Regions from separate parts of the Homo sapiens genome. Here all the other regions are linked to region 1. Evidence: promoter capture Hi-C in 16 types of primary human blood cells and fetal thymus (Javierre and others, 2016). All regions are on one chromosome and are shown on one strand. Each heading gives the region's core, a stretch centred on a gene start or on the middle of the fragment in contact. The rest is flanking DNA. Distances are from core to core; before and after follow the strand shown. Region 1 holds the start of ADAMTS1 (ADAM metallopeptidase with thrombospondin type 1 motif 1). Region 2 overlaps LINC01695 (long intergenic non-protein coding RNA 1695). Region 3 overlaps LINC01697 (long intergenic non-protein coding RNA 1697). Region 4 has its middle 49 kb from the start of LINC01695. Region 5 has its middle 86 kb from the start of LINC01695. Region 6 has its middle 1.4 kb from the start of LINC01695.

The links. Contacts are between HindIII fragments. The CHiCAGO score rates a contact against its expected background, and 5 or more counts as called.
Region 2: a fragment that was not itself captured here is called in contact with the fragment with the promoter of ADAMTS1 in region 1 in 1 of 17 cell types (endothelial precursors); the score reaches 5.6 in endothelial precursors.
Region 3: a fragment that was not itself captured here is called in contact with the fragment with the promoter of ADAMTS1 in region 1 in 2 of 17 cell types (M0 macrophages and M1 macrophages); the score reaches 7.3 in M0 macrophages.
Region 4: a contact is called between a fragment that was not itself captured here and the fragment with the promoter of ADAMTS1 in region 1, in 1 of 17 cell types (M1 macrophages). The highest score is 5.5, in M1 macrophages.
Region 5: a contact is called between a fragment that was not itself captured here and the fragment with the promoter of ADAMTS1 in region 1, in 1 of 17 cell types (M1 macrophages). The highest score is 5.2, in M1 macrophages.
Region 6: a contact is called between a fragment that was not itself captured here and the fragment with the promoter of ADAMTS1 in region 1, in 2 of 17 cell types (megakaryocytes and M0 macrophages). The highest score is 7.5, in megakaryocytes.

Annotation. Positions count from the first base shown.
Region 1 is chr21:26,843,892-26,846,923 of GRCh38, reverse strand. ADAMTS1 (ADAM metallopeptidase with thrombospondin type 1 motif 1) reads left to right here and starts at 1,515. Exons shown (of 9, transcript NM_006988.5): 1 at 1,515-2,699. The coding sequence starts at 1,970. RefSeq lists enhancers at 131-730, 731-1,331. The HindIII fragment of the contact is 3,865 bases long and covers 922-3,032 here.
Region 2 is chr21:28,191,197-28,193,896 of GRCh38, reverse strand. The region is part of intron 3 of LINC01695 (long intergenic non-protein coding RNA 1695); the gene reads left to right. Among named protein-coding and RNA genes, the nearest start is that of LINC01695, 36 kb to the left of the region's middle. The HindIII fragment of the contact is 1,695 bases long and covers 426-2,120 here.
Region 3 is chr21:28,090,357-28,093,056 of GRCh38, reverse strand. The region is part of intron 1 of LINC01697 (long intergenic non-protein coding RNA 1697); the gene reads right to left. Among named protein-coding and RNA genes, the nearest start is that of LINC01697, 43 kb to the right of the region's middle. The HindIII fragment of the contact is 1,124 bases long and covers 836-1,959 here.
Region 4 is chr21:28,275,820-28,278,740 of GRCh38, reverse strand. No RefSeq gene overlaps it. Among named protein-coding and RNA genes, the nearest start is that of LINC01695, 49 kb to the right of the region's middle. The HindIII fragment of the contact is 180 bases long and covers 1,175-1,354 here.
Region 5 is chr21:28,312,992-28,315,697 of GRCh38, reverse strand. No RefSeq gene overlaps it. Among named protein-coding and RNA genes, the nearest start is that of LINC01695, 86 kb to the right of the region's middle. The HindIII fragment of the contact is 6,920 bases long and covers 1-2,706 here.
Region 6 is chr21:28,228,674-28,231,516 of GRCh38, reverse strand. No RefSeq gene overlaps it. Among named protein-coding and RNA genes, the nearest start is that of LINC01695, 1.4 kb to the right of the region's middle. The HindIII fragment of the contact is 1,226 bases long and covers 685-1,910 here.

The sequences.
Region 1 (3,032 bases), core at 266-2,765:
TGAGTGGAAAGCAATGTTTTTGTTTTTGTTTTTCAAGTAAGCAATCTCGCTAGGAAAAAAGAAGTTGGAAAGCATCCGGAAAAGAAAGCTTGTAAGAGGGACGTGTGGGAGAACTAGAAGGGACGCTTCTGGCTGGGGCCAACTGAAGTGGGGAAGATCTGGGGAGGAGCGAGGAAAGGACCCAGATCTACTTGGAGCCAACCAAGAGACCGGACGGGAGTGGGGCGGAAAGGCGGAGACCAGTTCGAGCACTAACGCGGGGGCGCGCGAGTGTGAGGGTTGCGGGTCCGCCCGGGGCTAGGGCGGTCGCTCTCGCCATTGTCCCCGCGGCTTTCCGCCTGTGAAACACGTCCTTCCTCTGGGTCCTTGAGCCCCTCCCACTTTTTGGAGAGAAGAGCCACTCAGTTTTTTTTCCTAAGGACCTGTTGGTGGACCTCTCCTCGCTTTCGTAACGCGGATATAGCCTTTTCCCTTCCTGGTAGGAAGAGGAAGGAGGGGTCCGGGAAGGAAGCCGATTTCCTTCTTTCCCCCTCTGCACGCTTGCTAGCCCCAGCGATCGCTGCTGGCCCCCGGGTAGGAAAGTGGGGTTCCTGGCCGTTTCTGCGACGCTGGCCTAGGGCTTGCAGCTGCTGTTGAGTGAAAGCACGCAGACTGGCGGGAGCCGATCATTTCTCGAATGAAGAAGAAAAAGCGCAATTCCCTCCTTATGCTCTAGGGAATTGAGCCGCGTCCCAGATCACCCATTCCAGAAATGTGAAACCGGGCCCTCACAAAGTCGTCTCTGGTGAAGAGGTGGCGTGCGGGGTGGGGGTTGGTGGAGGGTGAAGGCATAAGCAAACATATTTTAAAATCCAGATCGTAGGAAGTGTCACCTGGCCCCTCACCCAGGCATGCTTTCTGGGGGAAGCGCAGGGCCAAGCTTTCCCTAGAAAAGCTGGGGCGAAGAGAGAGCAGGCGGCGGCTAAGGAGCTCCTGGCAGGCTGGGAAGGTGGAGAAGTGGGGTGAGGTATTTTTCTAGAAAGTGTAGCCCTAGCTCATCTCCTAGATTGGGGAAGAGGGAACTGAGGGAGGAGGGAAGGAGACCCAGGGCAGCTCCAGGATAGGGAAATGTTGAAGAAGGGACTGCGTTCTCCAACCGAACCCTCCCTCCTGGGAACCGCAGCCCAGCGCGGTAACTGAGTTACCGCAACCGGGCGGTGGGGAGGAAGGGTGGTCCAGGAAACCGGCGAGGGAGAAAAGCGGTGGAAGGGAGAGTCTTCTCCCTGGAGCGGCCCCAGCAGTACAAAGTGCTGGTCACAGCGCCCCTTCCGCCCCTAGATTGACGAGCAGTGGCGTGGAGCCAGCGCGGAGGCTGCCCCCTCCCCCTCCCGAGCCCGCAGCGCGGAGCGCGGTTTAGCACCAACGGAGCCGGGGGCGGCGTCTTTGGGATGGAAAAGGGCCAAAGGGGAGGAGTGGGGTGGGGGTGGGGGTTTCACTGGTCCACTATAAAAGGACCGCTCGGCTGCCCGGTTCTTGCACTCGCTGGAAAGCGGCTCCGAGCCAGGGGCTATTGCAAAGCCAGGGTGCGCTACCGGACGGAGAGGGGAGAGCCCTGAGCAGAGTGAGCAACATCGCAGCCAAGGCGGAGGCCGAAGAGGGGCGCCAGGCACCAATCTCCGCGTTGCCTCAGCCCCGGAGGCGCCCCAGAGCGCTTCTTGTCCCAGCAGAGCCACTCTGCCTGCGCCTGCCTCTCAGTGTCTCCAACTTTGCGCTGGAAGAAAAACTTCCCGCGCGCCGGCAGAACTGCAGCGCCTCCTTTTAGTGACTCCGGGAGCTTCGGCTGTAGCCGGCTCTGCGCGCCCTTCCAACGAATAATAGAAATTGTTAATTTTAACAATCCAGAGCAGGCCAACGAGGCTTTGCTCTCCCGACCCGAACTAAAGGTCCCTCGCTCCGTGCGCTGCTACGAGCGGTGTCTCCTGGGGCTCCAATGCAGCGAGCTGTGCCCGAGGGGTTCGGAAGGCGCAAGCTGGGCAGCGACATGGGGAACGCGGAGCGGGCTCCGGGGTCTCGGAGCTTTGGGCCAGTACCCACGCTGCTGCTGCTCGCCGCGGCGCTACTGGCCGTGTCGGACGCACTCGGGCGCCCCTCCGAGGAGGACGAGGAGCTAGTGGTGCCGGAGCTGGAGCGCGCCCCGGGACACGGGACCACGCGCCTCCGCCTGCACGCCTTTGACCAGCAGCTGGATCTGGAGCTGCGGCCCGACAGCAGCTTTTTGGCGCCCGGCTTCACGCTCCAGAACGTGGGGCGCAAATCCGGGTCCGAGACGCCGCTTCCGGAAACCGACCTGGCGCACTGCTTCTACTCCGGCACCGTGAATGGCGATCCCAGCTCGGCTGCCGCCCTCAGCCTCTGCGAGGGCGTGCGCGGCGCCTTCTACCTGCTGGGGGAGGCGTATTTCATCCAGCCGCTGCCCGCCGCCAGCGAGCGCCTCGCCACCGCCGCCCCAGGGGAGAAGCCGCCGGCACCACTACAGTTCCACCTCCTGCGGCGGAATCGGCAGGGCGACGTCGGCGGCACGTGCGGGGTCGTGGACGACGAGCCCCGGCCGACTGGGAAAGCGGAGACCGAAGACGAGGACGAAGGGACTGAGGGCGAGGACGAAGGGGCTCAGTGGTCGCCGCAGGACCCGGCACTGCAAGGCGTAGGACAGCCCACAGGTAGAAGAATTGCTCTCGTTTGTCTGTCCATTCATCCTCCTCTCCTCACTTTATCTATCCCACGCGACTTCAGGGTAGACTCCTGCTGGCAGGCAGGATCATAAGTCCGCGGACAGAACGGAGGCCTGGAGTGGAGGAATGTGGTTTGAGGTTTGGATTGGTGAACTCAGCTAGAAAACATACTTGCATTTGCCCGAATAATGAATAACCAAGAAAAAAACTGACAAACGATTTTCTGCAAACTAAAGCAAAGCATTTAGGCCGGGGAGGGAGAGTTTGTAACCTGACTCCTTCCACCTTTAGCGAGTTGGAGCTTGTGCGAGTTCTTTCCAC
Region 2 (2,700 bases), core at 24-2,523, 1.3 Mb before region 1:
TTTTGAATTCTTTATCTGCCATTTTAGAAGTTTCATTTTGGTTAGAATCCATTGCCATAGAGCTAGCATAGTTCCCTGGGGGTGTTGAAATACTCTGTCTTTTTGTATTGTCAAGAGTTTTTGTGCTGATTTCTTCTCATCTGAAGAAGCTGTCACTTCTTATTTTTGGAATTGCTATCATTTAATTGGGACTTTAAAAAAAATGTTTCTCCCTTGAGGGGCTGACTGTAATGTATGTTGTATGTGATCATTTGGCTTTGTTTCTGGGTGCTTTCAGGGGACCAAGGCTCTGTGTGGGTTCATTTGTTATAGATAGCTTTTGCCTCATGGCTTCCTCAAATTCTACTTGTTGTAGCTATGTACTGGGTGGATGAGCTGACTCACTATCTTCTGTGGGGCTGGGAATGCAGGTGTCTCAGGAAGCTTCTTTTGTACCCTGGTACTGTGGCCTTCTGTCAGCAAGGTTTTTATTTGGTATTGCAGTTTGGTCTCCAGTCCAGTAGGTGGTGATTTAAGAGCAAGGGTTAGCTTGCCATCGGGAACACTGATGATGAGTGGAAGCACCCACCCCGACAGGATAGCAGAGGAAGTTCTTGGTGGGAGGCACTGAGGTCTGGGGTGAGAGAGAAGGGGCTGTCTCAGCTCTTTGTCCTGAGCAGGAAGAAACATGATTTAGTTCACTATCAGGCCCCTGTTAGTGAATAGGGCTCATGAACTTCAGTTTAGATATACCCTGTCCTTTCTCTCTGGGCCTCAATGCATCTGAGGTCTGTGGGAAATGCCCCTCTTGTGGCTACCTCTGACATGGACTCAGGGCAGAACACCTTCCCCCCAATCCAAAAAAAAAGGAGCTCTGAAGCTGCCCTCGATGGCAGGAATGCTGCCACTTGGTGTAGGGAGCAGGAGATTATCCTACACTTCCTGACACCCAGGACCACAAGCACACTTTCAACCTGGGTGCAGCAGCCATGAATAGCACTGGAAAGGCTGTCTCTAAGCGCACTTGTGCCAGCCCCCAGCAGGAAAGGCCTCAGCTGTGTCTGCAGCAGTGTGAGGGAGTAAGAGGTGGTACCCTCTCCATGTCTGCTCCCAGCCACTAGTGCTGCTTGTCTGCTGGTGATATGGTTTGCCTCTGTGTCCCCACCCAAATATCACCTTGAATTGTAATAACCCCACGTGTTGTGGGAGGGACCTGGCTGGAGGTAATTGAATCATGGAAGTGTGTTTTTCCCATGCTGTTCTTGTGATAGTGAATAAGTCTTATGAGATCTGATGGTTTTATAAAGGGGAGTTCCCCTGCACATGTTCTCCTGCCTACCTCCATGTAAGACGTGACTTTGTTCCTCATTCACCTTCTGCCATGATTGTGGAGCATCCCCAGCCATGTGGAACTGTGAGTCAAATTAAACCAGTTTCCTTCATAAATCACCCAGTCTCAGGCATGTCTTTATTAGCAGTGTGAGAACAAACTAGTACAGCTGGGACAGAACAATGCTTCCCCTCTTGGGAGAACTGCACTATGCTGTGATTCCTTTATCCCAAGGGGGATTTGGTGAGGCACGCTCCCCTCCCCTAGGGGCTGTCCATCCTAAGGGCTAGATCTCCAGGGAATCACTGGTCCCCCATGACTGCCAAAGCCAGAGCAGATTCTGGAGAACATTTGTGGGGCATCTGGGGATAAGGCAACCCTGAGATTCCCCAGGTAGTTGTCCTTGATGGAGGCACAACCAGTACAGTGTCTGCTGCCTCAATTTGGGTATGACGGAGTGCTAGTGCACTTGCAGGAGCTGGTCACCTGGTGCTCTGCCCCCAGGAAGCTCGCAAATTGTCAAGGACAGTAGTCCTTGAGTCCTGGGCTCAAGAGGGCAGAGAGGCTCCTGGACAATTCAGTGGTCAGCAGTTTGTTGCAGGGGAGAGGAGAGAAAAGAATACCCACCCCTATCCTTTGCATGGGACTCCAGGTTCCCTGGAGTCCAATCTCTGCCAGATTCTTGCTGCCTTCCCTTTCTGCACTCCAGCTTCTTCCCATGGGTTGTCTGACAGGTTTCAGCACTCTTTCCTCAGCTTTCCACTCCTGGAATGACCATTCACTTATAATTTTGATCTTTCTGAGGGAAGCTTGCATCTTTTGTCTCTAGTTGGCCATCATTTCCCTGCTTCCAGTACCACATTGTCTTGATTACTGTAGATTTGCAGTAAGATTTGAAAGTAAAAAGTAGAAGCCCTCCAACTTTGTTCTCCTTTTTCAAGATTGTTTTGGCTACCTGTTGGTCACAGGGTGACAGACGCTGTGGTGGAGTTATCTTGATCTCCTGCAACAGAGCACATGGAGCAGTGAAAAATGGACCACTGTTCATTTTCTTGATGATATTCTTTTGCAACTCGAAAGTTCAATTTTCATAAAGTTCAAATTATCATTTTTTCTTTTTTTTACCTCAAATCATGATGTATGCCTATGTTTCCTTTCAAGAATTTTATAGCTTTTATATTTAGATTTCATCCACTTGAAATATAAGGAAGCTGACCAAATTCATTCTTTTGCATGTAGATACCTTTTGCTGAAATGTCTGTTATTCTCCCCATTGAATTGTGTTGGGATCCTTGTTTGAAATAAATTGGCTGCAAATTGTAAGGGTTTACATCTGGACTCTTAATTAGATTATATTAATGTATTTGTCTATTCTTATGCCACTACAGCAC
Region 3 (2,700 bases), core at 148-2,647, 1.2 Mb before region 1:
TTCTCAATACGTATTCTGTCTTTTAGAATTCTGCAGCTTGTTCAAAATGTCCTGAACTGCAGGATTTAGAGAGCCAATAATCAAGATCTTAGCATTTTTAAATAGATCAAACTTTTAGAAATAACTTAATGCTGGCTTTGCAGAAAAATATTTGAAATGCTATAAACTATACTCCTAAAAATCTTAACCCAACACAAGATCAATAGTATTTGAACATCATAACGTCAATTTATATTTTCTGCAAAGGAATACACATTTTACAAAATATGCTTCAAATATCTGTTAATACATTTCACTGCCAGAATTTTTATTCTGTAGAATACTTTTCATTGCATATTTTACTTCTTAAAAATATTATGCACGATGTATACAAGTAGAATAAAGTAAGCGTTCAGGACCAAAAGTCATTTTATCATTACCAACTAATCTAGAATGTCTGATTCGCGATGCCAAAAATGTTATGCCCACAGTTGCTACTAGACTAAGCAGAATTTAAGAAAAACTAATTAGCTACAGAATGAATCTATGAAACGTTAAGTCAAGTTATCAAAAATCTCTCATTCTTCATGCATTTGTACTGCTTATTTTATATGCCATTAGTGTCAAGAAATGTAGTCCGTATGAATTACTTTTATACAGTAACTTTAGTAAGGGCTTTAAACAATTTAGATATTTTATATGAAACAGACCATTTAAGAAAACTCTCACTTAACAAAGTGAGTCTTAATATAAAGAACAGTATCAGATAGTTTGTCTTAAGCAAAAATAGAGCAATTTACCAGTTGAACCAAACTTATCATTTCACTCAGCTCATAGTAAATATTTTAGTAAAGCTTAAACTAAAAACATTTGAAAGGACATATGCACAAAAAAGTAATGATCATTAACAATGGAATCATTCATATTGAAGGCATTTTTTAATTTTTTCTCTTAAATTTGATATAGACCTAAACTACTAACTAGAGATTTTTGTAATAGGTATGGATTTAATGTGTTTAGAAACAATATAACCAAGTAAAGTTTTAATTTATTTATTCATAAATTAGTAGGATTGAAAGGATATGAAAAACTATTCATACTGAACTGTTTATGATAATAGGAGTGGCGTGTGAAGGCAGAGGAATTGTTGGTTTCTATCTTGGTATTTATAATTGCTATTTTAAATAGGGATATTATGTTTATATGTTATATAATAATTTAAGCATATGGTATTTAAAAACAATGAACATTAAATACACAAATTACATTTTTCATTGTCCCCCTATTTATTAACCTGGGACAGAGTGTGATGATAAGAAAAGGAAGGATCTGGGCAGCTGTCATAGATGTCCCAGGCCACTCCTTGCTTTTCTGGAAGTGGCTTGTGTTTACTTGTACCCTTGTACTTATCAGTGAAGTTTGACATGGGATAACAGCACTAATCCATGTGAGTCTGCCTTGACAATTTGACCTTTTTATGTTCACAAAAATAACAGGTAATTCTCCAAAGAGTAAATTTAAATTAGCACAGGGAGAAAAATCAGTTCGCTAATGAGAAGAGAAAAATCCAATAAGCACACGTGATAAACCATTTCCCTCAAAATTTAAAAAGGTAACTGTACCAGGTGAAGATACAGATGTAGAAAAGAAAAAAGAAATAAATTCCCATATCTGATGGGAATATAAATCAGTATCAACATAAGAGAAAGCAGTTTGGCAACACAAATCTAGGGAAAAATCCACTAACCCAAAAAGTAAAAAATTACATGTGTATGTGTGTGTAGGTATGTAGCCTAGTGAATCCACTGCACTTTTATATAAAGACTTGTATATAAAGCAAATATTTTCACTGTAGCACTTTTTGCTATGAGGCAAAATTAGAAATGACCATCAGTCAAAAATTAGATAGACAAATTTTGGCGTTTTCATACAATAGAATACTGGAATTTAGCAGTTGTTTAACCATACCTGAGCAAAGCTTTATGAATCAACATGAATCAATTATTACAAATAAAGATGAAAAACAAGAAGTTTCTAAAAATACGTATATATTTTGTCAGTGCAATACAAGATAGTGTTTTTGTATTAGATATTTATGTAGTGTGTGAAATAACAAAAATGGTAGTACTGAACACCAAGTTTAGAAAATTAGTTAACTCTGGGATATGAGGAAGAGAAATAAAATTGGTGAAAATAAATTTAAATACATAGGATCTTCAAAACTTCATGGAAAATATGTATTATCAAAAATACTATGTGTGCTGAGATTCAGGGGATCACGATGGACAGGAGGCAGGACTAGATTGAAGCTCCAGGCAGAGCAACCTACGGAGGCTTGCACTGTGAATTTTAGCTCCAGATCAACTTCAAGAATAAAGTAGCAATCCCAAGAAGACCCACAGCCCCTCTGAAGGAAGCGGACTGCTCCTGCAGGACCCGGGAGACACCCCAAATACTATGAGTGTCCCAACTGTGCAAGTGGGAAAGGGAGTGTCCCGAACACACACCCCCACTGGAGAAGCTGAAGGTGTTTGTGGGAGAAGTTTCCGACTTTACCTGGAGCTGAGTCAAGTCAGAGAGCTGAGCGAAATACAGGGGTACAGGAAGCAGCAGAAAGGCCCTCGGAGCTCACTGGGTCCCCAAGCAGCCCATTCCTGCCTGGCAACACAAAGATCCATCCGGAGGGCGGCCAGAGGAGCAGGGGGTAAAACTCTACAGGGA
Region 4 (2,921 bases), core at 15-2,514, 1.4 Mb before region 1:
AAAGATACGGAAGTAAAACAAAACTGGAATCTGACTTGTTATGATTGCAGTTTGGAGAATGGTTTAAAGAGAGGGTATAGTACCTTTAGGATATTTTGGATTCAGGGATTTGTTTATGAATTGTATTTCGACAATATATTCTGATTTCCTAACCAAACTCCTTGAAAACAAGGGCTATGGATTGGATTCTTCACTCACTCCAAGCCCCAGTAAAATCTGAGAAAGTATCTCAGATATTGTATATCTTAATTGTATATTGTATATCTTAATTGTATATTGTACATTTTAATATCTCTGATATTATATACATTATTAAGTCAAAATAAGGCAAATATTTTTATTAATAAAAATGCTGATATGTACAAATATATTTTTGTTGAAACATTTATCTCTCTTAAAATATTTTATTTAACTCAGAAATAAATAGATTATATTGAGGACTTAAAAATTTTATTTTATTTTAGGCTCAGGGGCTACATGTGCTTGTTTCTTACATGGGTATTACATGGGTAATTGTGGGGAACGCAATTCTAGTGTGCCCATCACCCAAGTATTAAACATTGTACCAAATAGGCAATTTTTCAATCCTCACTCACCTCTTATTGTCTACGCTTTTGGAGTTCCCAGTGTCTATTATCTCCATCTTGATGTTCATGTCTGCCCATTGCTAAGCTTCTACTTATTAGGGAGAATACATGATATTTGATCTTCTGCTTCTGAGTTAGTTTACTCAGGATAATGACCTCTAGCTCCATTCATGCTGCTGCAAAGGATATGATCTTATTGTTTATTATGGCTGTATGATATTCCATTATCCAAGCAACCATTGATGGGCACTTAGGGTGGTTCCATGACTTCTCTATTGTGAATAGTGCTGCAATAAACATCCAAATGCAGGTGTCTTTTTTTATATAATGCTTTCTTTTTCTTTGGGGAGATGCCAAGTAATGTAATTGCTGGTGGAATGGTAGTTCTATTTTTAGTGCTTTGCGATTTCTCTATACTGTGTTTCATAGGGGTTGAACTAATTTACATTCCTACCAACCATTTTTAAAACTAGAATTTGGCAATAAAAATAAAACAATGATTATTAAACAACATTTAGTAGAAAAAATAATTCTTAAGTTGGTGTAAATTTGAGGCTAACCATGAGCTAACAGAGTTTAAGTAAGCTTTCAGAGTTTTGTGTACATACAAAAAGATATATTGTGCAACAAGTCATACAGAATTAGAAAATCAATTTTTATCTGCTTAGGAGGTAAGCCAACCATAGAGAAGACATTGAAAAAGACTTGAATAGTGATCAAATTTGAGTCCACAGTAAAAGGATATATGTCTGGTGAGAATTTAAGCTTAACAAAATTGGATGAACAGTTTTTCTCTCGGTACTTAGAAACAGGTAGCAGTTTTTCAGTCATATAGATTTATCTGGTTCATTTTTTTCACCATTATTGGCAGCATGTTAAAAATGCCTAATTCCTGTTAAGTAGGTTGAGACACTTCCATTTTACAAGTGTGGATTTATCTATTTTCTGAGTGACTTTCCTGCTACTAAGATGGGAGAAATGACAAAACTCAGTGTCAGAGATGCCTGGGTTTCAGCTGACCCTCACTGAGAAAATGAGATCATTGAGAAAATTCCTTAATCCTTCTGTATTAAGGAATTAATTTCCTATTGTTGCTGTAACAAATTACTATAAACTTTGAAATATAAAACAATACAAATTCATTGTATTATGTTTGTGGAGGTCAGAGCCCTAAAATCCAGATATTGTCAGGGCTGCATTGCTTTTGAAGGCACCAGGGCAACATCTGTTCCCTTGCCTTTTCCAGCTTCTGGAGGCCACCTACATTCCTTGGCTCACAGCCCCACTCTCTGTCTTCAAGATCAGCAGCATAGCAACTTTAACTCTCTCTTACTCTTTCTCTCTGAACTCTGCTCCTCTCTTCACATCTTCTTCCTCCTCTCATTACCTTATAAGGGATTTTGTGATAACATTGGCACACCTGGATAATTCAAAATAACTTTTCTATCTCAAGACCCTTAACTTAAATCATGCCTGCAATATCCATTTTGCCATGTAAAGTAATATATTCACAAATTCTGCTGATCAGGACAGGCATGTCTTTGAGAGAACATTATTCTGTGTACTATACACTCTAAGTCTCATTTTCATCATGTATAAAATGGGAGTCATAATTAGTGCCTCAGTCTAGCATTGAAATAAGCTCTTAACATACAACCTGGCATATAGAGGGTATTCAATTCCACATAATTATTTTATGAGTCTGTGCGGTGATGCCTTATTTGTTTCGCATTGTCTCAGAATATTTTATTTCTTGCTTTCTTCTTATATGTCTCACTATGTTGAATCATCATATTTCAGGCTTTTATTTATTCAACAAACAATTATTGACCAAATCAAATGATTGAATGTTTGTATTTCCCTCCTACTCCAAATTCATATATTGAAACCCTAATCCCAATGTGATGATATTTAGAGGTGGGGCCTTTGAGAAGTAATTAGGTCTTGAGGGTGCAGCTCTCATGAATGGGTTAGTGCCATTATATGTAGTGCAGAGAGCTAGCTCTCTTTCTGTCATAGGAGGATGCAATGAGAAGTTGGTGATCTGCAACCTGAAAGAGGGCCCTTATCAGAACTCAACCAAGCAGACATTCTGATCTCAGGCTTTCAGCCTCCAGGACTATAATAAATAAATTTATATTGTTCACAGGCCACCCAGTCTATGGTGATCTTTTGTTACAACAAAGTCTGAGCTCAGGTATCCAGTTAGTACCAGTGCTGGATTAGAAGCTAGTGCCCTATGCTGGGTCCCTAAGTTTTCCAAAGCCGAGTTATTTCAGATTGCACCTTTCTTCTTGAGATTTATCATGTCCTTCACTGGTCTCCCATTTTCAA
Region 5 (2,706 bases), core at 45-2,544, 1.5 Mb before region 1:
TCTTCTTTGACCCATTGGCTAGGAGCATGTTGTTTAATTTCTACATATTTGTAAATTCCCAAAATTCCTTTTGTTATCCCTTTATAATTTAATTTCTTTAATGTTGAAGAACATACTTTGTATATTTTCAACTTTTTAATTTTTTGTGGTTTTAATGAAGTAATATATAGTTTATCTTAGAGAATATTACCTGTGTACTTTAGAAGAATGTGGATTCTTCTGCTGTGTGTAGAGTGTTCCATAAAAATCTGTTAGCTCTAGTTGGCTTATAGATTTGTTAAATCTCCTTTAATTCCTTGTTGAAATTCTTCTTAGCTTATTTTTATTCATTATTGCAATCGAGGCTATAGAAGTGTCCCATTATTCTTTTTGACATGGCTATGTCTCCCTGTAGTATTGTCAGTTTTGGCTCCACGTATTTTGGGACTCTCTTGTTAGATGCATATATGTTTATAATTGTTATGTCTTCCTGAATGGTTGACCCTTTTATCATTATAAAACATAGTTCTATTTTTTCTAATAATAATATTTTTCTTAAAGTCTATTTTGCTTGATATTAGTATCACCATTTCAGTTGTCTTTTGATTGCTATTTTTATGATATAATTTTTCCATCTTTTTAACTTTCCACCTACCTATTTTTGAATCTTGAGTGTATTTCTTACAGACAACATATAGTTGGATCAGATTTCTAATTCATTCTGCCAATCTCTGCCACTTGTTTGAGAGTTTAGTATACTTTTGTTTAATGCAATATAGATAAAGTTGGATTTATATCTGCATATATATATATATACACACATATATATATATATCTATATATAGGTAGGTGCCTATTTTGGATTTATTTGGTGCCTAGTTGGATTTATATCATGCATATACATGTATGTGTATATATATATATATATATGCAGGTGCCTATTTTTAGGCCTAAAAAATCACATATATGATTTTGGCCTGGAGCTGGACTCCTTATGTTCATGTGGATTTGAGTTGTTGACTAGTTTCCTTTCATTTGATTCTGAAGGACTTGCTTCAGTATTTCATGTAGTATAGGTCTATTAGTGATGTATTTCTTCTTTAATTTATTTATTTTTGGTCTTGGGATATATATATGTATATAAATATATATTTAAACATATAACATATATATAATGTTTTTTGTTCCTCCATTACTCAATTACTGCTTTGTTTGTGTTAACTATATATTTGTATTACACTATTTTAATTCCTTTTGTTACTTTTGTTATATTTTTTTGCATTATTTTCTTAATGGTTGCCCTGGGCTTAAAATTTACATCTTAACTAAGACAATGTATTTTAAATTACTGTCAATTTTAAATTAATGTCAACAATCTATTTTAAATTAATGCATACCAACTTTCAGTGGTATACAAAAATTTTACTGTAATATAGCTTTGTTCCCTTACAATTCTTCTTGCTATTGTTTTCATATGAATTACACCTTTATGCATTAAGGCCAATGAACACATATTCATGATTATTGCTTTATGTATTTGCCCTTTAAATCAGATAGGGAAAGAAAAGTGTTAGAAACAAAAAATACATTTATTACATCTGTTATATTTACCTGTGTAGTTACTTTTACTAGTGCTCCGTTTTTTTTTGTTTTTTTGTTTTTTTTTTTTCTTTTGAGATAGGGTCTGATTCTGTCACCCAGGCTGGAGTGCAATGGCACAATCTCAGCTCACTACAACTTCCACCTCCCAGGTTCAAGCGATTCTCCTGCCTCAGCCTCCCGAGCAGCTGAGACTACAGGTGCACATCACCACGCCTGACTAATTTTTGTATTTTTATTAGAGACGGGGTTTCACCATATTGGCCAGGCTGGTCTTGAGCTCCTGACCTCGTGATCCACCCACCTCATGATCCACCCACCTCGGCCTCTCAAAGTGCTGGGATTACAGGCATGAGCCACTGCACCAGCTAGTGCTCTTTATTCTTTTGAAGAAAGCTGAGCTGCTGGGTGTTGACATTCATTAAGACAATAAACTAAGCTATAAATAATAATTGAGCTGTTTTTCACTTACTGTGATAGTATAAGAGGCTAAATAGCAAAGAGTGCTGGCATGCTGGCTCCCTCAATGTTCTCATTTCCCCCATGGAATGGCAGTGTGTGAGGGTCAAATGTAGCAATACAGATGGAGAAAATATGTAACTGCCAAGAGAGCCTTGAATAAAGGACTTCTGTCATTTTATGACCTGGGGCTAGGGAAAGTGGAAGGGTAAGGGCTAAAATTCAAAGAGTCCTAAGTACTGGGTCAGAGTGGAAAAATTATCTTTGCGATCCCATTATAAAAATATAGAGGTGCTTGAGGAATCTCTCAGCTGAGGCTTCCCAATAAGGAGACTTCCTAATAGAGGTCCTTTGGCTATGAATAAAATGCACATAAGAGCATGACCAGCCAGAGAGGCCTGAGTTCTTGGCTGCAACTTTTGCCAGAGACTTCAATGCACGGTCTGTATGTCAAGTTTGGTGTGGGGAGAGTAGATTTCCCCATGAGGCCTGCCAGGTAAAGCCTTTTCAGGTGCCTATTTCCAGGCCTGAAAAATGTTCATGTGGATTTGAATTACTGTCTAACTTCTTTTCATTTGATTCTGAAGGAGTTGCTTCAGTATTTATGGTAGTATAGGTCTGTTAGTTACAAATTTCCTTTTTTTTCTTTTTTTCTTTTTTTTTTTTTTT
Region 6 (2,843 bases), core at 48-2,547, 1.4 Mb before region 1:
AAGAAGACAGTACTCACCAGAAACCAAATGCGGCAGCACCTGGATCTTCAGAAGTGTGAGAATAAGTCTATAATTTAAGCCACTCAGTCTATGGTATTTTGGTATAGCAGTCCAAACTGGCTAAGACAGATGAAATGCATGTGGCCTCATCTAACTTATTTGTGTGCATGTGTGTTATTTTATTTAAATAAATTACATGTAGTATTTTCATATTGCCCAAAGCTAGAAGGGATAGCTAATTTGTAAGAATATTTAAAAGGATATCCATAGGCTGAAATAAAATTGACTATATGAAAATTAAACTTCAAATGTGAAATCCTATACTATTTTGAAGACATTAGCTATATAAATCCAGGATGTGTAAAGAGGTGGACTAAGGACAGTTTATTTGCAAAAGACAGGTAGATGGCTTTTGATCGATTTCAAACTCCATATAAATTAATAATATGAAGTAGTTACCAGGCATAGAGAAATTGTTTTAACTTTAATTATAAGTTTGTGCAGCAGTAGGGATAAAAATTATCATAATGCCATCAACATTACATAATTCTAATTGTTGCATATTCTCTTCCAAACCCTGGCAACACAAGTAAATAAGTCAAATAGTTTAATCATAATGTATACATCATTGTTTAAATGTAGCTATGTCTATTTAATATCATATAATTAATGTGATTTTAAGCTTCATTTTTTCTAATGTAATGCCCTAGGTAAGGAAAATCATAACAGACTCTTGGGCCATGAATCACCCTAGCATAAAGAAACTTCTGGAGATGAGCTATGAAATGGCATGGAGTTTGGAAAGAAAGGAAATAGACAACATCCTGCCAGGGCAAAAAAGATTAGGGAATCGTGAAAGCTGTTTCTATTAATATCTACTTGAATGATCATTTTGTGAAAGAGAAATTACCAAGTCTTTCAAATTTTTTCTTTTCCCTGTTTCTAGAAAGCATAATAAGGATCAATTGGTTTCAATTCAACAAATTCTCATTGGTCCTCTATTAAATTCCAAGCATTGGGCTTGGTGTTTAGGGCTACATACAGGAGAACACAGATCTGTCTGACTTCATAAATATTACAGACTGGTAGAAAAACAAACTTAAACTCTTTGTCAACTCCTTTTAAAACTTCTAAGGTGAATTTCCAAATATTTCCGTTTTATAATAGTATCTTAATGTATGATTAATGTCTGTTATTTTATATATTTGTCATACATATTTCTGTTTATATAATAAAATACATGTTAGTAAAAATGAGTCTTCAGAAATGTTCACATACATTTATGGAAAAGATATGTTTTAGAGGCAAAGGGAATTTAGCGCACAATTACTACAATTGGCATTAATATTAGGATGTGATAATAGTTCCAAAGGGGTTAGTAAAATTAAAACGTTAGGCACTGATTGATACGTAGGAAAATTGAATTGGGCAATCTAGCCACTAATGACAAAACATGTTTGCAATAAGGATGATTCAGCAAAGAATTTACTCCTGCTTAGTAACAGTTGCAATTTTATCTTTTGAGATATAAATGTGCATATTTGCTTTATAACTGTTGTATGACTCAGAGTTTAGAGTTATCTTTTATCCTTAGCTTTATAAGCAGTGTATCCAATAGCAACATATGTAAGACTTGCGTTTTACATTGTATACATTTTACTTTGCATTACATTTCAGTATGATATCATTACAACAAAACAGAGGTTCAAAAATACAGCATGATCCTATATTAAATACAGACTTCTGGCAGTTTTAAAAATATTAAAGATGTGTAGTTTATTGTTTTAAGAAGTCCTCAAAATGTATTACCTAGTAAATCCTCTTAACTATGTTCTGTCACATCTTCTATTTAAGAAAATTGTTTTTTCAGTTTGTAATCACTCTATACAATATGTTCATTTTATGAAGCTTTGATTAGAAATGTAAGAATTTTATATATTATAATTTAATTGCATTATTCTCATAAAACATTACAAGATTGACATTGCATTACCTCACAATTTGTTTTATAAAATTTTAACCTTTGATCTTTAAATTGATATGCTGAGGGGATTAAATAACATTAACAAACTTGTCATGGATATGAAATTCACTTAGATAAGACAATAAAATATTGTTTTTTTAAATCAACAAAGTAAAATTCTTAGAAAAATAAGCTTTGCTCTTTAAATATATTTCTGAATTGTATTCCTGTCTGATAACTTTATTTACTAGAGTTGTGGATCTGTAAATGCATGATAAAATGCCAGCTAGTTAGCTTAAATTGCCACTATAAAAATGAAGAAGGGATACATGAAGCTACTTTTAAAAAGTCTTTATAAGCATGTTAAAGTATACAGCATTTGCTGGATAACATTCTTCTCATGGTTCTTAAATTCACTACCAACAAAAAAAGTAACAGCCAAAAGTAATTAACCAAAGAAACACAATTTAAAATTATGTAGAGAGTATGAAAAATCACCAGTATTTTACCTTCATTGATACTTACTCTATACTTTGCACTGTATACAAGCATTACCTCATTTAATCCTCACAAGAGCCATTTGAGGTAGCAACCATTATTACCTTCATGTAACTGAGGAATCTTAGGTTAAGTATTTAGCTGAATGTCAAGCAGTTAGAAAGTGTTATTAACAGATAGGTCCTTTAGCCCCTAGAGAATAAATTCTCTATGTCACTTTCACATGCTTCATAGCCCTCGGGCTACTGGGCACTAAGAGGCAGCATTCAAGGCATTCACCATTCAATAAGCCTTTAATGAAGTCTTCTTTGCATTTATACCAAACTAGGAGATATCCCTGTTTCTAGTTCTCCTCCCTCCCTCTGTCACCTCATCTAATATA